3 separate regions of the Homo sapiens genome follow, and all the other regions are linked to region 1. Evidence: promoter capture Hi-C in 16 types of primary human blood cells and fetal thymus (Javierre and others, 2016). All regions are on one chromosome and are shown on one strand. The core of a region is centred on a gene start or on the middle of the fragment in contact, and the rest is flanking DNA. Distances in the headings are between cores, read along the strand shown.

Region 1 (4,333 bases), core at 592-3,091:
TGGAAAGGGTGGAGACAGAACCAGAAGATGGGAAGGAAAAGGCCTTGAACACAGCCTGTGTGTGTATTAGAGGTGTGTCTTAATCTTTTGGACTAGGGACTACCCAGTAACCACCCTGAGTTCAGTTTTGTATCACTTTGAGACTAAACTGCTGTGGTAATATTTGTTAGACCCTGAAATAAATTACTGACATGACAGTTTCCTTGTTTTTTTAAATGTCCCCATCTTGAATCATAATTATTGGTACTTGTCTTCCTGAGGCTTTTGAGTCCATCAAATGTGTGCAAATTTCATTTGGGTTAATGTTATTTTCCAGCTTTCATCTGAAACTGCCCATCAGCATTCACCTGCTAGGGTGTTGCTAGAACATGTAAGGCCATGTGGGTTGATGAAGGTAATTTATTCCCACCAATTGGAAAATAAGCTACATTACTTCTAGCTTAGGAATTCCATACATATTTTTAAAATGAAATATGAAACGCAATTTTTTCCCCACACAAATTAATTTGATTCATTAAAGGGCTGAGAATTCTCCCACCAGAAAATCAAGTTTATAGTAGGACCTCAGCATGGGATGGGGTAGATTCGTTTCTCCAAGAACTTGGAGAAAGAGGACAAAAAGGAAAAACATATCAGTGTCCACTCAGCCTTTTATTTTTGGTGTTTCTAAAACTAAACATTTGCTCTTCTTCCATATCCCTCTCTCACTGGAGATCCCTAGTGAGGACACCCCCATTCTGTGTCTTAAGGATATCTGGTGATGATTTCTAAAAGAGAGTTTCTTTTATTAGTAGTAGCAGTAGTAATTGTTCGAGACGGGGGTGTCACTCCGTCACCTAGGCTGGAGTGCGCTGGCACAATTATAGCTCACTGCAGCCTTGACCTCCTGGGCTCAAGGGATTTTCCCGCTTCAGCCTCCTGAGTAGCTGGGACTACAGACATACGCCGCCACGCCCAACTTTTTTTTTATTTTTTTAATTTTTTTTTTATAGAGACAGGAGTCTCATTATGTTGCCAATTTTGGTCTGAAACCCCTGGGCTCAAGCGATCCTCCTGCCTCAGCCTTCCAAAGTGCTAGGATTGCATGACTGATCCACTGTAAGTGGGTTTCTAAAACAGAGATCTTTACAAAGCTTTTTGAAATAATTTGACTCAGCATGCCAGGTAACCAGAACTGTAAGATCACAATTTGAAACAGACATTGTGGTGATGGTGGGAAGAGACGGCCTGCATCAAAACAATGTTTACTAGTTTGTCCTTTTGTCCCATATTGTGTAACTCCGAGAGTTCTTACACCACCGTAAGAAAGTAATTATACTTTGAATTTCTCTAAGGCTCTAGTTAGAGAGCATCCATCTAAATGTGCATTTCCAGGAATATTGCTTTAATGGCCCAGGTAATTCTAATTGGAGAAATAAAATGTTAGCGAGACAGAGTTGGTAGAAGCAAGTAAAACCGGTGTATGGGGTTTGGCCAATGAAATGCAGAGCTCCTTGAGGGCAGGAGACATGTATTCACCAACCTTCTCGCGCCCACAGCCCCAGATCTGTGGCCAACAAGTATCTATGATGCACTTGAAAGGAACGAGCGATGCCAGATGCGGAGGAACCAGGCAGGGCGCATTCTGTCAGTGGCGCCAGGCGGTGTAGCTCCAGCTCTCAGATAACCCAGGCTTTGGGAGGGCGGGGCTCCTGCCGGCCTCCCCTGTAGTGCGGCTCGAGTCCTGTGAAGCTACCAGTTGCCAAATGAAATCTGAAACCTCGAGCTGTGTCTGAGGGTTGGCCCCACTCAGTTGTTCCAGCCTCTTGTACTGTATATTTACACATTCACACACAATCACCCTTTCTAACTTCTGGGACTCTTTGCGCAACTGCTAGGATTTCTCAAGTGCATGTGGCAACACAGCCCAGCTCCGGGTGGAAACCAGCAGGGCTCTGGAGGGGCTCGGAGACCAGGGGAGCTGTCAAGGCTGCGGCGGGGACCAGAGAGGAGCCTGGCGGGGGTGGCTGGGTGGCTGGGGGAATCCCCCCAACTTCCCATCGCAGGCGCAGCTCTCTCGGCCGCCTATTTCCTCCGAAACCCGCGCTGCGGAGCAGCCCAGTGCATAGAGTTCAACACTTCCCCTTGTTGTGGAAAGTAAAGGAGCCTCACTACCACCTTTTTTTCTTTGCGTTTTCTTACTGCTGGTCCTGGGAGCCTTTTCCTTCGGAGCAGCAGCCCTGTCCGGCATCTGTCTTGAGCTCCCAGCAAGGTAGGTGATGCGGTCGCGAGGAAGTGCGCGGAGCTACCGCGGGAAGGACGGACGCGGCTGCCTGCGCCAGGGGAGGGGGCTGCGGGGGGCGGGGAGGGGGCTGCGGGGGGCGGGGAGGGGGCTGCGGGGGGCGGGGAGGGGGCTGCGGGGGGCGGGGAGGGGGCTGCGGGGGGCGGGGAGGGATCGCAGGAATCCCGTGCTGATGTAGCCTGTCTGTGTTTGTGTGTGTGTGTGCGCGCGCGCGCATGTTTGTGCCGGGAGACAGCAAGCTGGTAGTATGTCTTTCTGGCTTTAAAAATAGATGGAATTAATAAAAACCCTTTGTACAATTCAATTTCCTCTCTTGGTATCCATCCTCCCCTTCCCCTTGTTTGTTTCCTCTAGTATCTTATAGGAGTTCCCTATGTAACAGGCGCACAAAGATAGGTTTTAATAATAAGCATATATATTTGCAAAAATATATATTTTATATGTATAAAATATGTTTTAAAATATTTATAAATATATTACATATTAGAAATATATATTATAAAATATATACATATATTTGTAAACACAAAACGTTAGGGAATCTTTGGTGAATTTGAAGCCACTCAAAAGATTTTGTCCAAATGTTTTTAAAAATAACATTTAATGATAAACATGTAATATGGTCTCGTTTTTAGAAAATACTTAAGACTACATTTATTTTATACGTACCCAAATAGAAGGGAGACAATGTTACTCTGAATTCCTTAGATAGATTTTCAGCATCAACCAGTAATAGGGAGCCCAGACTTCTTTGTAGACTATATCTCGTTTAATTCATTTGAATTAAACAAGTAATTTCTCCAAGTAATTTCTGTTTCCAGCACATTTTATGTTACTCTTTTTTTAACCTTCCACGGCATCATTGTTTCATCTCTTTCTAAAAAGGAAATAAATAAATCGTGCTGAGTATTTGGAATATAAAAGTTGTTAAGGCTTTGCTTATACATAAATACATAAATAAAACAATATGTGTTGCTATGTCTACTAAGTAAGACAAATTCATTGGAATCCAGGGATATTTGCAGTAGAGTTTAAGAGCTTTACTCAGTTACTGAGTAGAAGATGTACAGACGGATTAAATACAAACAATCTGTCCCCAGTTCCAATTAGAACTCAAAACCAATCCTTCAGGGCAAAAATGGATGACGCTATTGAACTGGGCATTGTAAAATAAAACACACAGAATGTATGTATTAGAAAAAGCCAGAAAACAGCCATAAAGTCACATCAGACTTGTGAAGATCTCACTCCCCCTTTTAAATTTCTTAATTCTTCCTCTTTTCTGGGCATATTTCAACTTGTAAGAGAGCTCAGTAATAAAAGTTACCATTTTATCTTCCCTGACTGCCTGGCCTTCAGGTAGCAAGTCCAGAAATCTGTTCTCTCTAGAGCCATTACTTAGTGGTCAGAGACTTCACCTTTGACATCTTGGAGGACGGAAATATTGACAAAACTCTGAAATAAATAACATCCTACCATTCACAGGCAGTATATTCTTGGTGGAAGACCTTTAAGTGGGGATAAGAGATAAACTGAGTTTTTCAGATCTGGAATTTAGTTTGAGGTATTTGGAAGGAATATAAAAGAGGTATGGTACTAGGAAAAATAATCGGTAATTCTTTCTGCATGTGGAGGGGCTGTTGAAACTCAGACTGTCCTTGGCTTTCAACTATATTACTTGGTTTTATTACTTCATCTCAGGGGTTTGGATTTGAGATGAGGTGGTTTCTCTGTAATATTCTTCTGTGCCTTACATACCCTGAATCTGAACTATTTTGAAAATATAAGCCTGATAAGAAGTGGGAAAGAATTAAGTTATCTAGAAAAAAATCCACTGCAGAACAAATGGCAATGCATTCTTCCAGACTAGAACATAGATTTAAGTGTAAAAGTGTTTTTGGGTGAAATCCCCAGGGAAATCCTTTCAGCTTTTGCTGGGGATAGTAATGGCCAAAGCTCTGAGAGCTTTCATGGATCATGGTTTTATTTACTGTGTGATCTTGGACTCTGCAGGGTGAAGGGTAAGGAGTGGGCAGGAAGGGTGAGGAATGT
Region 2 (4,333 bases), core at 473-2,972, 190 kb before region 1:
TTCTGGTTACAATCCAGTTGGCAGCAAGGGAATTACAGGAAGTAGGGTATTGTAACAAGAGGATCCGGTTCAATCACAGAGAATTTTGTGGAAAGGGAGCTATGCTTACACTGAAGATGAGCTTAGTAGATAGTTATATCTGGAAAATCTTTACCTGGATGTAAAGGCCCCAAAAAGGCAATTGATTCCTTAAGGGTGAATCACGTGATCCACATGGGAAGAGAAAAATGGGTGTGAAGGCTAGGAACCACTTTGAGTTTGGCTGCTGTTGAGGAACATCAAGAATTTCTGCAATTCAGTTATTTGTATATCATAGACAGCTTCCAAGTTAAATGGTTTTATATTTTGCAACTCATCATCTAGTATTATTTAAGAAGAACTAAAGCCTCCTTTCTTCTTTCTTTTTGAACAGTTTTCATCTCAATGCCAACACATTCTGCGTGGTATTTTTGCATATGCTCAGTTCTTTTCATGTATCCCCTTCATAAATGAATTTTCTGGGCTTATTTTTACTATAAAGGCAGACTCAGATTTTCTACAATACACAGTGAGAGTAAAGTACTCTGTTCTGTACAGCTGACCCTTATTGCAAATATTTCATAATCACTGTATAACTGTTGCTTCAATTAATTCTCACATCATTCTGATGGCTATTATAATAAAGTATGTGTGCAAGTGATTTAAATATTAATAAAGAAAACCACAGTATCAAAAGAGAAGTTTCCAATTTATTTTAAGAATGTCAGCTTTTCTGGCTTTTCTCTTTTTATCACATTACATGGAAAGAATAATAGGAAAAGGCAGTTTCTCAAAAATGTAGTAGTCAAACTGGCACAGTAATATTCAAAATTATCTAGAGTAACAATGAGAGCAAATAGCTTCTACTGGTTGTGATTTACAAATTGCAATGCTTTAATGTTAACAGCCATACACAGTATATAGGATGAAGCCTTGTGAGGCCTTGAGGTTTGGAAAACATGTCATTCTTGCATTAGTGTTCCCACTGACACTCTTAATGCTAAATTTAACTTCTTAATGTATTAATGTATTTTCCTATTATAAAATTTCCTATTTAAAAGTTTGCATGGTTTATTCTCTCTCTCTCTCTCTCTCTCTCTGTGTGTGTGTGTGTGTGTGTGTGTGTGTGTGTGTTTAAAGCTAATATAATTTGGATTAAATCACCCCAAAATAAAATTTACCTGCCTCGTCTTCAGAATGCATAATGTCAGGGCTTTATTGATGTAGCTGCAGCTGAGGGGCCAAGATAGAAGGGTTTGTGAGAAAAGTCATGAAAACTAGTATTGGTGAATTTTAGCTGACCATATTCTTCACTGAAGTCTGTTCTCCAGGTTGCTTTCTAAGGCATAGGCCAACTATCCACGTACTCCTTACTTTCACAGCTGCTCTGGTACACTCTGTCTCTTGTCATTTTTCTTCTTGTAAGTCTGATTACACAGTGATAACGTTTAACGTAATAATATCAATACTTAATGATAATGGTCTGCTACCCATACCTTTCTCTTTCTACAAAAGTACACCAAAGATGATTTTTTTTACTCCTAATAAATTTGGGGAAACAAAGAATAAAAAATAGTGTAGATTGGAAGCTTTACGTGTTTCATAATCTTTAAAATTTCTATAGATTATGATGTTGGTTTTTCTGATTTGGTATTCATTAGATCTGGGATTTTTGCCTTCTACTTATACTCTTTTCAGGGAATAGCTTAGTAGCTGCCCACATTCTTCTGATTTTGCCTTAATTGGAGGCAATATCTTTGCTAGACAAAAAAAAACCTTTCCTCGGTTGGCCACACCTCAAACAAGGTGATAATACAATCAAGCTTTAAGGGCCAAATAAATTGGTGTTATTTTTACTTAAGTGAATGGTTTTCATTTCTGAGGCCTTGTGAAGTGATGAATCTGCTTAACTCATTGAAATACTCTTGTGGGAAATTGGTACTGTCATGACTGCAGTGAATCACACTTCTCTGTATCCGTGCACCTTGGCATTGTGACCCTGAAGCCCCTCTAATCAAGAGGTAAGATTTACTTCTACACCTGTTGAAACTGGGGAAGCCTAGTGACTTGCTTTGACTAATAGAATGTGGTAGAAGTGACATAGTTTAAGTACTTAGAACTTAAGAGGTCTTGTAGCACCTATTCTTAACTTATTGGAGCCTTGAAACCACCATTCTGTGAGGAACCCAGCCAAGTCCATTAGAGGGTGAGAAGCCAAATAGAAGAGAACCAGTTGATAGCGAGCACCAACTGCCAGACCTGTTTAAGTCAAGCCGTCAGATGACTGCAGGTACATGAGTGATCCCAAGTAAGACTAAAAGAACTGCTCAAATTGACAACTTACAGGACTGTGAGAATTAATATATCATTATTTTAAACTGCTAAGTTTTGGAGTGTTTTTTACATAGCAGTAGATAACCGAAACAACTCCAAAGTGGAGAACTGTCAAGAGGAATGACCCTCACTTGCAGAAAGCCCAAGACTCAGATGTAATAAAATTACTACTCCAAAGTTATAAAACTTCTTTATCTCATATTTCCTTAAAAAATTATATAAAAGTCAGGAAACAACAGATGGTGGAGAAGATATGGAGAAATATGAATGCTTTTACACTATTGGTGGGAGTGTAAATTAGTTCAACCATTGTGGAAGACAGTGTGGCAATTCCTCAAGGATCTAGGACCAGAAATACCATTTGACCCAGCAATCACATTACTGGGTATATACCCAAAGGATTATAAATCATTCAACTATAAAGACACATGTACATGTATGTTTATTGCAGCACTGTTCACAATAGCAAAGACTTGGAACCAACCCAAATGCCCATCAATGATACTGGCTAAAGAAAATCCAGCACATATACACCACAGAATACTACACAGCCATAAAAAAGGATGAGTTCATGTCCTTTGCAGGGACATGGATGAAGCTGGAAACCATCATTCTCAGCAAACTAACACAGGAACAGAAAACAAAACACTGCATGTTCTTACTAATAAGTGGGAGTTGAACAATGAGAACACATGGACACAGGGAGTGGAACATCACACACCAGGGCCTGTCGGGGGGTGGGGACTAGGGGACGGATAGCAGTAGGAGAAATACCTAATGTAGATGACGGGTTGATGGGTGCAGCAAACCACCATGGCACATGTATACCTGTGTAACAAACCTGCATGTTCTGCACATGTATCCCAGAAATTAAGTATAATTTAAAAATTAAAAAATTAAAAAGCGAAACAAAAAATTGTATTATTTATTTATTTATTTTGAGATGGAGTCTCGCTCTGTCACCCAGGCTAGAGTGCAGTGGTGTGATCTCTGCTCACTGCAAGCTCCGCCTCCCGGGTTCACACCATTCTCCTGCCTCAGCCTCCTGAGTAGCTGGGACTACAGGCACCCACCACCACGCCCGCCTAATTTTTTTGTATTTTTTTAGTAGAGACAGAGTTTCACCATGTTAGCCAGGATGGTCTTGATCTCCTGACCTCGTGATCTGCCTGCCTTGGCCTCCCAAAGTGCTGGGATTACAGGCATGAGCCACTGCGCCCAGCCATAAAAAAATTGTATAATTTTTATATGCATATGTCATTCCATCAGGTATTTATTTTTATAATCCAACAATATTTGCAATTTTATATTCTGTTGAATGCTATACCTATGTTTGTTTTGATCAGAAATACATTTAAAAATTTTGTTACCATTAATGCTCAAGCAAGATGTGTTTTATTTACCCTGTGGAAGCATAACCTCTGGCATATCACTCTGTACCCCAGTTTGAAGAGTAGTTTTTCTAACATATAGTTATTGAACTGCAAAGTGTTGAAAAAGGAGGCAGTTTTAACTGTCCATCCCTTGTAGTTTTGCCTGAATGCTGTTTCTTTCATCATTTGTGATGAACTCTCCTGCAGTTTCTCCTCTGTATCCTTGAAGAAGAATAAAAGTCATAGTTATCTGATTATAAGCATATTCATGAGAGACCCCAGTGAGAGCCTCTAGACTTGGTTTTGGTCAGTTCTCTACAGACCTAAGGTTTTGTTTTTTGTTGAGAAAAAATGTGATCTCTTCATTTTGTTTGCTAGAAAAAAATTAGTGGTTGCCTGGCAACCAGTTGCCCATCAGCTTCCTAAAGCAGGAGAAGTTGCTAGGTAAATCATTTTACTCTTTTTTTTTCCAGAAAAGGCTGGACTTAACAGATTCTAGGGTCTGAAAAATTATCCTGGAAGCATCAGAAAGACAAAGAAAATAAGGAATTGACTTGATGTAACATTAAGCCAGTTTGCTGTAGTTCTGCTATTAAAATATGGAAATA
Region 3 (4,333 bases), core at 1,282-3,781, 140 kb before region 1:
CGAGTTATTTGGCTGTGTGCTGTTCCTATACATTTTCTCTCTGAATGTTTTAAACAAAATTAATGAAATAAGAATGCTAAGTTTCTGGTTTCTAATATACTTTAACAGAGCAATTAAACATAGATTTTTAATATGAAGTTTTTACTATTTATTGCAAGAAATAAAAAATCTCTTATACATCTAATTATCTTAAGATATTAATACACCTCTAATGTTTTATTTTTTAGAATACATATATGTAGTTTTCCTCTTATTTCTTATTTATTATGCTATAGCTTAATATTAAATATTGCTTCAAATATGGAAGAGCAGTAAAAATAACTTTATTCTTACTTGAGTCTATTTTTATTGCTCCGTAAATATATTTATTAATGGTATTTTTTATTTCAGCAATTATAGAATTCACTTTTTGTCATGAACCCTGTATCAGAAACATAACAGAAAAAAAATAGGACTAAGAATCAGAAAAGAAGGGAAATATGATGTTTTATGAGATTCTGGAAAACTGCTACATTGAACTGAACATTCAGGCACTCATCATGTAATGATGCAATAACATGTCCTTTCATGGGAACAAAGGGTAGTAAAAATAATATCAATTATTTTTAAGCAATTGATATTTATATTTAAGCAATATTTATATTGATGTCTTATATTTAAGCAATAAGACAATTATTCTTAAGCAAGGTCACCCAACATAACTCTTCCTTTCCCTATAATCTGCCTGCAAATATATGCTAAATGATAACAAATAATAAGTAAAAACCTTCTATGAAACTCCTTTTTTTAAGGAATCACACTTGTTTACTCTTTTGATAAGCATGTTTCTCTAATTTATTTAGGGAGACATTATGTCCTTTGTCTGCAAAAACAATTAAAAAGAAACATATAATGTTATTTTACCAGGGGTCAAGTTCTAATTGGATTTTACCACGATAAAAAATATAATTCATGGCCAGGCATCGTGGTTCAGGCCTGTAATCCCAGCACTTTGGAGGCTGAGGCAGGCGGATCATGAGGTCAGGAGATCGAGACCATCCTGGCCAACATGGTGAAACCCCATCTCTACTAAAAGTACAAAAATTAGCTGGGCATGGTGGCACGTGCCTGTAATCCCAGCTACTCAGGAGGCTGAGGCAGGAGAATCACTTGAACCCGGGAGGCAGAGCTTGCAGTGAACCAAAACGCACCACTGCACTCCAGCCTGGGGACAGAGTGAGACTGTGTCTCAAAATAATAATAATAAAAATATATAAAATTCATTTTCACCGAGGCCCTAAAATTGTATACCAGGGAAAAATCAAAAGACTGGGAATGTTCTTTTGTTGCCAAGAAGGAACTCTGGATTAAAAATTCCCCCAAGTAGCTTAGTTATAGTCAGGAAATCCCTTTCTTCTAATCCTATCCTTAACCACCATGCTAGAAACATAAGCTTCAGGGCCCAGAACCACTTGCATCACCGAATATTTAAACATTTCAGCCAAAAGTTTTAAAAAGTGTGTATAACAACTAAATATTGCTTGAACTTAACATTTCATAGGAAATCAGCCTATGTGACCACTTTACAAGTTCTATTTCTTGATTTATCCTAAAATTTGTATTTTATTATTATTTTGCAAAATAAAATATGGAATCTTCCCTTTCCTTTGTAGCTAGGAGGAGATGACATGGAGGTTGAGGACATGGGGTGGTGAGAGAGGTTGAGGAACCCCACGGAGGCAAGGGCCCAGAGGAGGAAGCTGTGTAGAGATGGAGAGCTGTCATAACTCAATGATACAACCCATACTACAGCACTCAGCAATGCAGTCTTTGACCAAATGTAATCCCTCCATAAAATGTGAGATTTTATTGGGGTTTTTGGAGGAGGCATCCAGAGAACAGCACCCTTCTTTTCCACCTGGATTCTTAAAAAGTAGTTGGGAAATAAATCAAAAGTAGCAAATGGGGGAAAAATATTTCTTTTTGTTTGTTTGTTTTCTACTAATAGAGGCCAGACTGAGCATGTGGTTTTAGGTTTGGTAGCCAAATAAATTCGGTAATTCTGAAGCCCAGGATGGATTTGATTTCTTGGCCCAGTGAAAGAAGGAAGGGACCATGGCAAACAAAGACCCAGAGGAGGGGTAGAAGTCATGGTGCTCAGGAGCAGCTCGCTTCCCAGATCAAGAAGAAATGATGCTTGCCATGCATATTCTAGTTTATTCTCCCCAGATTTACCAATCACATCTCTACCTCTCACGGGACTATGTAAAGTGTGGAGAGAGGCTAGGCCTATGCTGAAGAATAATCCTTCCTCATGTCCACTCCAAGTGGGGAAACATTATTCCCCTCTAAAATTGATTTACATAGGGAGGGAGGAACCAGGTCATAATGAACTTTCTATAATATAGCAGGATTTAGATTGTAAAGGAAAGGCAATGGGTACTTATTAAATAACTTTTTTAAGAATAGAGGCAAGAGAAACAGATTTGACTTTCAGAAAAATTATTCTGGAATGGTACACTGTAGAGGATCAATGGGAATGGGGCTTGGGGAAAAGAACAAGAGGGTCATTTAGGAGACTCCCCCCATCTTAGCTAGGATTATGAGAATCTCAGTTAAGATAATTGCTAAAGGATTAAGAAAAGTATTCTGATTTGGGCATGTACAGTGTAACTATAGGATCATGGCAATCATCAAAAATCAACTCACACAATTCACTGATTTTTTGTAACCTGTACACTGAGTCTTTTGCTATAAATATAGATTGATATTAAAGTGTGACTATTACTAGGCTAGCTTCAGTTTCCTGAATAGAAATAGATAAAGATAAAATATTATTCAGTGTGCCTCAGAGTACTGTATAAATGAGTAACAAAAAGGGACATAATAAAACACACTGATGTTGGAAATATTTTAATCCTTGAGTTGACAGTTATAGAGGGTTGACACTTGAGTTGCCTGTGTTGTCACGTCTTCCATCTGATGTGATTCTTAGGGTGGCCTTTTTGTGTATAGACCCCATAGTTTAATTAATGCTTGTGGTCATGACACCTGTCAGCAGACATTGATGAGACTCTCATAATGGATACACTAAATACATGCAAATTATTTCTTATTTGCAGAGAAAACATTTCAAAACTCATTTCTATCATTAAAACAGGTAGTCAGAGATTAAGACAGGATACCCCAGTCTGTTACTATTTATTTCTTTTTTTTATTATTATACTTTAAGTTTTAGGGTACATGTGCACAAAATACATAATTATAATTTTCATAAAAACAATCTATGTAAAAACTAAAAAATACAGAAAAGTATGAAAACATAGAGAAGAAAGTATAAAGAATAAAAAACAACATGATTCCATTTCACAACCAAGGAATAACCAACATTTGATAACATTTCAAACATCTTTCTATCCTTGTGTACAGATAGGTTTTAAAGTTATTTTTTGAAAAATAAAGGCATTAGAATATACACTCAATTTATAAGCATTAAATTTAATTTTAATCCCATTTAACAGAAGTAAAATTCTCTGAAATTTAAAGTAATTGCTGAATTACCTGAAGCAAAAGACTTTGGATAAATGTTTCTCTAAAACAAGAGGAAGTGCTTACATTTTAATATATCTCCCTGAAGCTAAATAAATGCATGAAGCTTATAGCACTCTTTATTTCTTTGTTTGTTTACATTTAAATATGTGCTTCCACATTAGACCGTGCTATAAATGTGAATAAATTAATTGGCAGGTTCACAATTTTGTCTACTTCCTTGCTTGGGATTATATGTATCCTGCCTTTTCTGCCAATCCCTTATAACTTTTTAAATCCTTGTAGTTTTGCAACTTTTCTAAATATATCTTGGAATTGTTCATTTTTTGTCAAATTTTTATATCAAATATTCCAGAGATATATTCTAACTTTGATAATTGTCTACATTTTTTTTTGGTGGTACATGGCGATCATCAATTTCAATCTTTCAGTTCCATTTTTGTTTCCTTATCTTTTCTTCTATATTTTTGAATTTTTTCCCCTGTTCCATTTGTTTTGCTGTCTGCACTATGAACATCAATTATATATCAGATCGCTTTATCTCTTTTGCATACCTATCATTTTCTCAGTAATTATTTTATTTTGTGTGACATTTTTATGCCTAGATTATTTTTTGTCCATGGTTTCTTCTATTTCTTTCTGAGCTCTTTCAGCTTGATATTTCATTTTAAAAGAGATATTGTGCTGTTTGAATTATTATTTATAATTACAGTGAATGATTTGTCTAAACTCTTCATTTCTGTATGAGTTTTTCTTCTCTCTCTCTCATAGTCATTTTTGAAGTTTTATGCTTAAGCCCTAGTAT

The links. The method cuts DNA at HindIII sites, captures the fragments that hold promoters and counts their contacts. A CHiCAGO score of 5 or more calls a contact.
Region 2: a contact is called between a fragment that was not itself captured here and the fragment with the promoter of ARHGAP24 in region 1, in 2 of 17 cell types (total B cells and naive B cells). The highest score is 8.3, in total B cells.
Region 3: a contact is called between a fragment that was not itself captured here and the fragment with the promoter of ARHGAP24 in region 1, in 1 of 17 cell types (total B cells). The highest score is 5.4, in total B cells.

What each region holds. Positions count from the first base shown.
Region 1 is chr4:85,473,309-85,477,641 of GRCh38, forward strand. It overlaps ARHGAP24 (Rho GTPase activating protein 24), which reads left to right and starts at 1,842. Exons shown (of 10, transcript NM_001025616.3): 1 at 1,842-2,251. The HindIII fragment of the contact is 5,990 bases long and covers 1,132-4,333 here.
Region 2 is chr4:85,280,957-85,285,289 of GRCh38, forward strand. No RefSeq gene overlaps it. Among named protein-coding and RNA genes, the nearest start is that of ARHGAP24, 190 kb to the right of the region's middle. The HindIII fragment of the contact is 234 bases long and covers 1,606-1,839 here.
Region 3 is chr4:85,328,511-85,332,843 of GRCh38, forward strand. No RefSeq gene overlaps it. Among named protein-coding and RNA genes, the nearest start is that of ARHGAP24, 140 kb to the right of the region's middle. The HindIII fragment of the contact is 2,202 bases long and covers 1,431-3,632 here.